Regions from separate parts of the Homo sapiens genome. Here region 2 is linked to region 1. The links are contacts of gene promoters, found by promoter capture Hi-C in blood cells and fetal thymus (Javierre and others, 2016). All regions are on one chromosome and are shown on one strand. The core of a region is centred on a gene start or on the middle of the fragment in contact, and the rest is flanking DNA. Distances in the headings are between cores, read along the strand shown. Region 1 holds the start of ALG1 (ALG1 chitobiosyldiphosphodolichol beta-mannosyltransferase). Region 2 overlaps HMOX2 (heme oxygenase 2).

Region 1 (2,700 bases), core at 197-2,696:
GCCGCTGCCAGCATGTTTGTATGCCCATCCCTGCTGTCTGCAGATACTTACTCGTCCTTCCTTTCCTTCTGAAAGCTCGGGTTTCAAGGTCTGGCTTAAGGCGTGAGCTGTCCCTTCTGAATCCATAGAAAGGGAGTGATGGGGCAATTGTGAAAAGCAGATGCAAAGTGTGCCAAGCCCTGAGCTGAGCCCAGGGACACTGGGGAGCCACATCCATGTGGGCTACCCTGTCCCGTGGGTGCTGCCTGTGGTCCTCATCAGGGGAGGAGTCTTGTTTGTTTGTTGAATACGGTCTGGGTGGTGGCTCTCCAGGTTCTGCGGCAGCTCCCAAGTGGAGGCAATGGGGTAGCATCACCAGTGAGCTCTTGGTGTTTCTCTGCAAGGGACCGCTTTCAAAGAAAAAAGGTCATGATACGGTTTGGCTGTGTCCCCACCCAAATCTCATCTTGAATTCCCATGTGTTGTGTGGAAGGGACCCAGTGGGAGGTAACTGAATCATGGGGTCAGGTGTTTCCCGTGCCGTTCTCGTGATAGTGAATAAGCCTCACGAGACCTGATTGTTTTATAAAAAGGAGTTTTCCTGCAGAAGCTCTCTTTTTGCCTGCTGCCATCTATGTAAGAGGTGACTTGCTCCTCCTTGCCTTCTGCCATGATGGTGAGGCCTTCCCAGCCATGTGGACCTGTAAGTCCATGAAACCTCTTTCTTATGTAAAGTGCTCAGTCTCGGGTATGTCTTTATCAGCAGCATGAAAACGGACTAATACAGGCCATCGCAGAGACACACATTAAACTCTCACTATGGCTACTTTGGGAGGTGAAATTGGAGGGTCACTGTGGAAATTTCCTTTCTAGCCATTGATACTTAAGCAAAATCATGATGGTGTTTACTTCCTTGTTTGTCCTTCCCCCTCTCTACCTTTTAAATGTTTTATTAAGTGTGATGTACACCCTGGAAAATGGGCAGGTAATCTGCTGCTTGAGGTACCGCCCCAAATGCAGCACACCCACATTACCAGCACCAGATCCAGAAGCAGAACCCACCAGCCCCTAACTTCTAACAGCGAGGACTGGTTTTTATTTACATAGACGGAACTCTACAATTCGTACTCGTCAGCATCTGGCTCCTTTATCAATGTTAGGATGAAATTTATCCAAATTCTTGTGTCACTATATTTTGAAATTATCTTTGAATCCTGAAGAGAGTTCTTAGATCCCAATACAGTAACAGCTTTACTTTAGTCGGGGAAATACACTGGTGTGTAGGGAATCTGGTGTATGTGCGTGTGTCCTACTACTACTAATTCTTGGCCCCGAGGGGCTCCTGGGGGTTCCCCGGGCCCCTGTTAGGGAACCGCGTCCACTTCTCGCCCTCTCGGCCCACTTCGGAGGCTCGGTCTGCGGCTGCGCACAGCGCGAGGAAGCGCGGTCACGTGACTGCTGCGGGCCAGCCAAGATGGCGGCCTCATGCTTGGTCCTGCTGGCGCTGTGTCTGCTGCTGCCGCTGCTGCTGCTGGGAGGATGGAAGCGCTGGCGCCGGGGGCGGGCGGCCCGGCATGTAGTAGCGGTGGTGCTGGGCGACGTGGGCCGCAGCCCCCGTATGCAGTACCACGCGCTGTCGTTGGCCATGCACGGCTTCTCGGTGACCCTCCTGGGGTTCTGCAGTGAGTGGCCAAGGGTCTGGGAGGGACGATGCTCTCTCAGCCGTTGATCCTCGGTTCTAACCGCCCCGGGGAGTCGAGGCGGAAGTGCTCCTTTAGTCGCCGCCTTTGGGCAGCTCTCCGAGATTAGACGAGCGGTTCTGCCCCAGCCTTTCCTGGGTGGGTCTCTAGGTATAGCCGGCGTTAATCTTGCCACGTGTCAGAAGTGTGTTAAGTGAATCCATTGCGTGGTCTCACGTAATTCTCCTAGTAAGTGGAACCCAGGTGCGTGGAACTCCAGGGCTAGTGCTGGTAGCTACGTCCCTGTGCAGCTACCCTTGTCAGGCTATGTCTGAGCTGACAGGATATTTCATTCCTCATCCCTCAACGCAGAGCTCTGCAGACAGATGTTTTCATTTGTTCTTCATGTCCAGCTTTTCCCCACAGTGTGCAGGGCAGCGGTGTCTGCTCCCTCATTATTCTCCACGTTGGTATCTTGAGAGGGTAGCTCAACCCCATCTCAGGAAGAAGTGGGAACAGCACTAGTTGCCTTTAATCCCTGTTTAGAATCTGCTATCCTAGGGTGATGGGGTAGAGTGGGACTTCCTAGGGATGGCTCTGTGGTGGGAAAATTCCACTATCCAGACAATCTAGATTAGTTTAATTGAGCACCTACTGTTTGCCAGGCATCATGTTAAGTGAAGGTAGGTAAGATTCAGGCCCTATCTCTGTGTGCCTCCTAGAGCAATCTGAACAAGAATTGGCCGCATTCTCTGTTCTGGCTAGTGAGGAGCAGAGAGAGGTTTTGAAATATCTTACTTTCCAAAACACTGTCCGTGATTCAGCCTGAGTTGGGAGATTATCTGACTTTAGATTGCTGCTTCTGGTACATTAAAGGGATCATTCTCATTTTTCAGACTCCAAACCCCATGATGAGCTCTTGCAGAACAACAGAATTCAGATTGTGGGGTTGACAGAACTTCAGAGTCTTGCAGGTAGGATGCCGTCAACTCCAGAATCCTCTGAATCCATGGGCTGGGGGCAGGGGGTGTTCGTTTGAAAA
Region 2 (2,700 bases), core at 24-2,523, 590 kb before region 1:
TCTTTGGATGCTGCTTGTCGATCTAAGGGGTTTCCAAACGCTTCTTTTTTGGTAAAATTGGGATTATGACTAGGAATCTGTTTTTTGGAGTTTCCCAGGTGATCCTTGTTTGGGGTCCTTGTCTAAGGCACAGGCTGGAAAGAGGAGGGAGTGGACTGGCAGGGAAGATAGAGCAGTAAGCGAATAGAATACCTGGGGAAAGGGACGCCAGAAGAGTGATTGTTGTCTGGTGAACTGTGCTGTCAGTGTGTATGTCAGAAGCCAACAAAGTGGATATTCTCTTCACTCAGCTTAGGGAAAAAATTAATTTTTGTTTCACAGATAGATTCGTTTCCTTCCCAGGAGTATTATAGGCCTAATTACTGTCATAGTTCTCAGTAACTTTAAAAAGGCTGTGGGGAAGAATGGCATAACAGACTAGTATCTTGTACCCAGCCTGCCTTTTTCTTATTCTATTTTTTTTTTTTTTTTTTTTTTTTTTTTTTTTGAGACAGTCTTGCTCTGTCACCCAGGCTGGAGTGTGGTGGCACAATCTCAGCTCACTGCAACCTCCGCCTCCTGGGTTCAAGCGATTCTCCAGCCTCAGTCTCCTGAGTAGCTGGGATTACAGGCGTATGCCACCATGCCTGGCTAATTTTTGTATTTTTAGTAGAGATGAGGTTTCACTATGTTGGCCGGGCTGGTCTCCTACTCCTGACCTCAGGTGATCCGTCCACCTTGGCCTCCCAAAGTGCTGGGGTTATAGGCATGAGTCGCTGCGCCCGGCTTTTTTATTTTTTATTTTTTATTTTTTTGAAACAGAGTCTGGCTCTTTCACCCAGGCTGGAGTACAGTGATCTGATCTGAGCTCACTGCAATCTCTGCCTCTGGGGTTCAAGCAGTTCTCCTGCCTCAGCCTTCCAAGTAACTGGGACTACAGGCATGCACCACCATGCCTGGCTAATTTTTGTACTTTTGGTAGAGATGGGGTTTCGCCATGTTGGCCACGCTGGTCTCCAGCTCCTGACCTCAAGCGAACCACCCTCCTTGGCCTCCCAAAGTGCTAGTATTACAGGCGTGAGCCACAGCACCCGGCCTTTTTTTTTTTTTTTTCCTTAGAGTCTTGCTCTGTCACCAGGGCTGGAGTGCAGTGGCGCCGTCTCGGCTCACTGCAACCTCTGCCTCCTGGGTTCAAGTGATTCTCCTTCCTCAGCCTCCCTAGTAGCTGGGATTACAGGTGTGTGCCACCACACCCAGTTAATTTTTGTATTTTTAGTAGAGACGGGGTTTCACCATGCTGGCCAGGCTGGTCTCAAACTCCTGACCTCAAGTGGTCCACCCACTTTGGCCTCCCAATTAGAATTAGAGGTGGAGCGACCGTGCCCGGCTAAGGGCCTACTATTTTTTTTTTTTTTTTTTGAGACAGAGTTTCACTCTTGTCACCCAGGCTGGAGTGCAGTGGTGTGACCTTGGTTCACTGCAACTTCCACCTCCCAGGTTTAAGCGATTCTCCTGCCTCAGCCTCTGGAGAAGCTGGGATTATAGGCGTCTGCCACCACGCCTGGCTAATTTTTTGTATTTTTAGTAGAGACGGGGTTTCACCATGTTAGTCAGGCTGGTCTCAAACTTCTGATGTCAGGTGATCCACCTACCTCGGCCTCCCAAAGCATTGGGATTACAGGCGTGAGCCACCGCGCCCGGCCAGGCCTCGTATTTTTGCTTTTGCTCATGTTTTCATGTCTGAGATAGAGGGCCTACTATTAAAGCACTGTGCTGAGGCTGCAAGAAGGTACTAGTGTGATTAAAACAATCTGGTCCGGGCGCGGTGGCTCGCACCTGTAATCCCAGCACTTTGGGAGGCGGAGGCGGGCGGATCACGAGGTCAGGAGATCGAGACCATGCTGGCTAACACGGTGAAACCCCGTCTCTACTAAAAAATACAAAAAAAATTAGCCGGGCATGGTGGCGGGCGCCTGTAGTCCCGGCTACTCGGGAGGCTGAGGCAGGAGAATGGCGGGAACCCGGGAGGCGGAGCTTGCAGTAAGCAGAGATCGCGCCACTGCGCTCCAGCCTGGGAGACAGAGCGAGACTCCGTCTCAAAAAAAAAAAAAAAAAGAAAAAAATAAAACAATCTGGCATTATAATGCCATCCTGATTTTAGTTAATCTAGTTGACTGGCTGGCCTCATAAGTAGCTGTGATGATCATAATTTTTATGCGAAACACCTGTCATTGAGCATACAGGTGTACTGAAAGAATTGGGTGGAACAGGGTATTTGAAATCAGAATTGTTCTGGAAAGTCGGGTACATAAAGCTCTATCTTTAGCACAGTTGTCTGTATTGCACAATTAATATTTATAGAATGGTACACCTTATGTTATCTTTTTATTTTTCCACCTAACTCTCTCTCTAGATTGAAAGGTACTTGACGTGCAGAGCAAGATCTTATCTTTCTTTGTAGTCACAGTACTCAAGAGGGTGATAAATGTTTGTTGATGATAATGTAATGTCACCTGTCCAAGTGTAGCCATCATCTTCAGTAGTTACTTGATCTGCTGTTGTGTCTGGCAAGACTGCTATGTGCTGCTGCAGAGGAGCCATTGTCACCTTGAACTATCTCTGTGGCAGTCTGGAGGAGGGCAGGAGGGAGAAGGGAAGGAATAAATGAGCAAAGCTGAGTGTGGATAGTAGTGTTTGACGGCAGATGAAAAAGCAAACTTG

The links. The method cuts DNA at HindIII sites, captures the fragments that hold promoters and counts their contacts. A CHiCAGO score of 5 or more calls a contact.
Region 2: a fragment that was not itself captured here is called in contact with the fragment with the promoter of ALG1 in region 1 in 1 of 17 cell types (neutrophils); the score reaches 7.2 in neutrophils.

What each region holds. Positions count from the first base shown.
Region 1 is chr16:5,070,397-5,073,096 of GRCh38, forward strand. ALG1 (ALG1 chitobiosyldiphosphodolichol beta-mannosyltransferase) reads left to right here and starts at 1,447. Exons shown (of 13, transcript NM_019109.5): 1 at 1,447-1,661; 2 at 2,555-2,632. The coding sequence starts at 1,454. RefSeq lists enhancers at 1,477-1,536, 1,567-1,676, 1,847-1,906. The HindIII fragment of the contact is 10,202 bases long and covers 1-2,700 here.
Region 2 is chr16:4,479,272-4,481,971 of GRCh38, forward strand. All of the region lies in intron 1 of HMOX2 (heme oxygenase 2), which reads left to right. It overlaps LOC124903636 (a long non-coding RNA gene), which reads right to left. Exons shown (of 3, transcript XR_007064964.1): 2 at 2,493-2,608; 3 at 1-290. Among named protein-coding and RNA genes, the nearest start is that of HMOX2, 4.2 kb to the left of the region's middle. The HindIII fragment of the contact is 5,105 bases long and covers 1-2,700 here.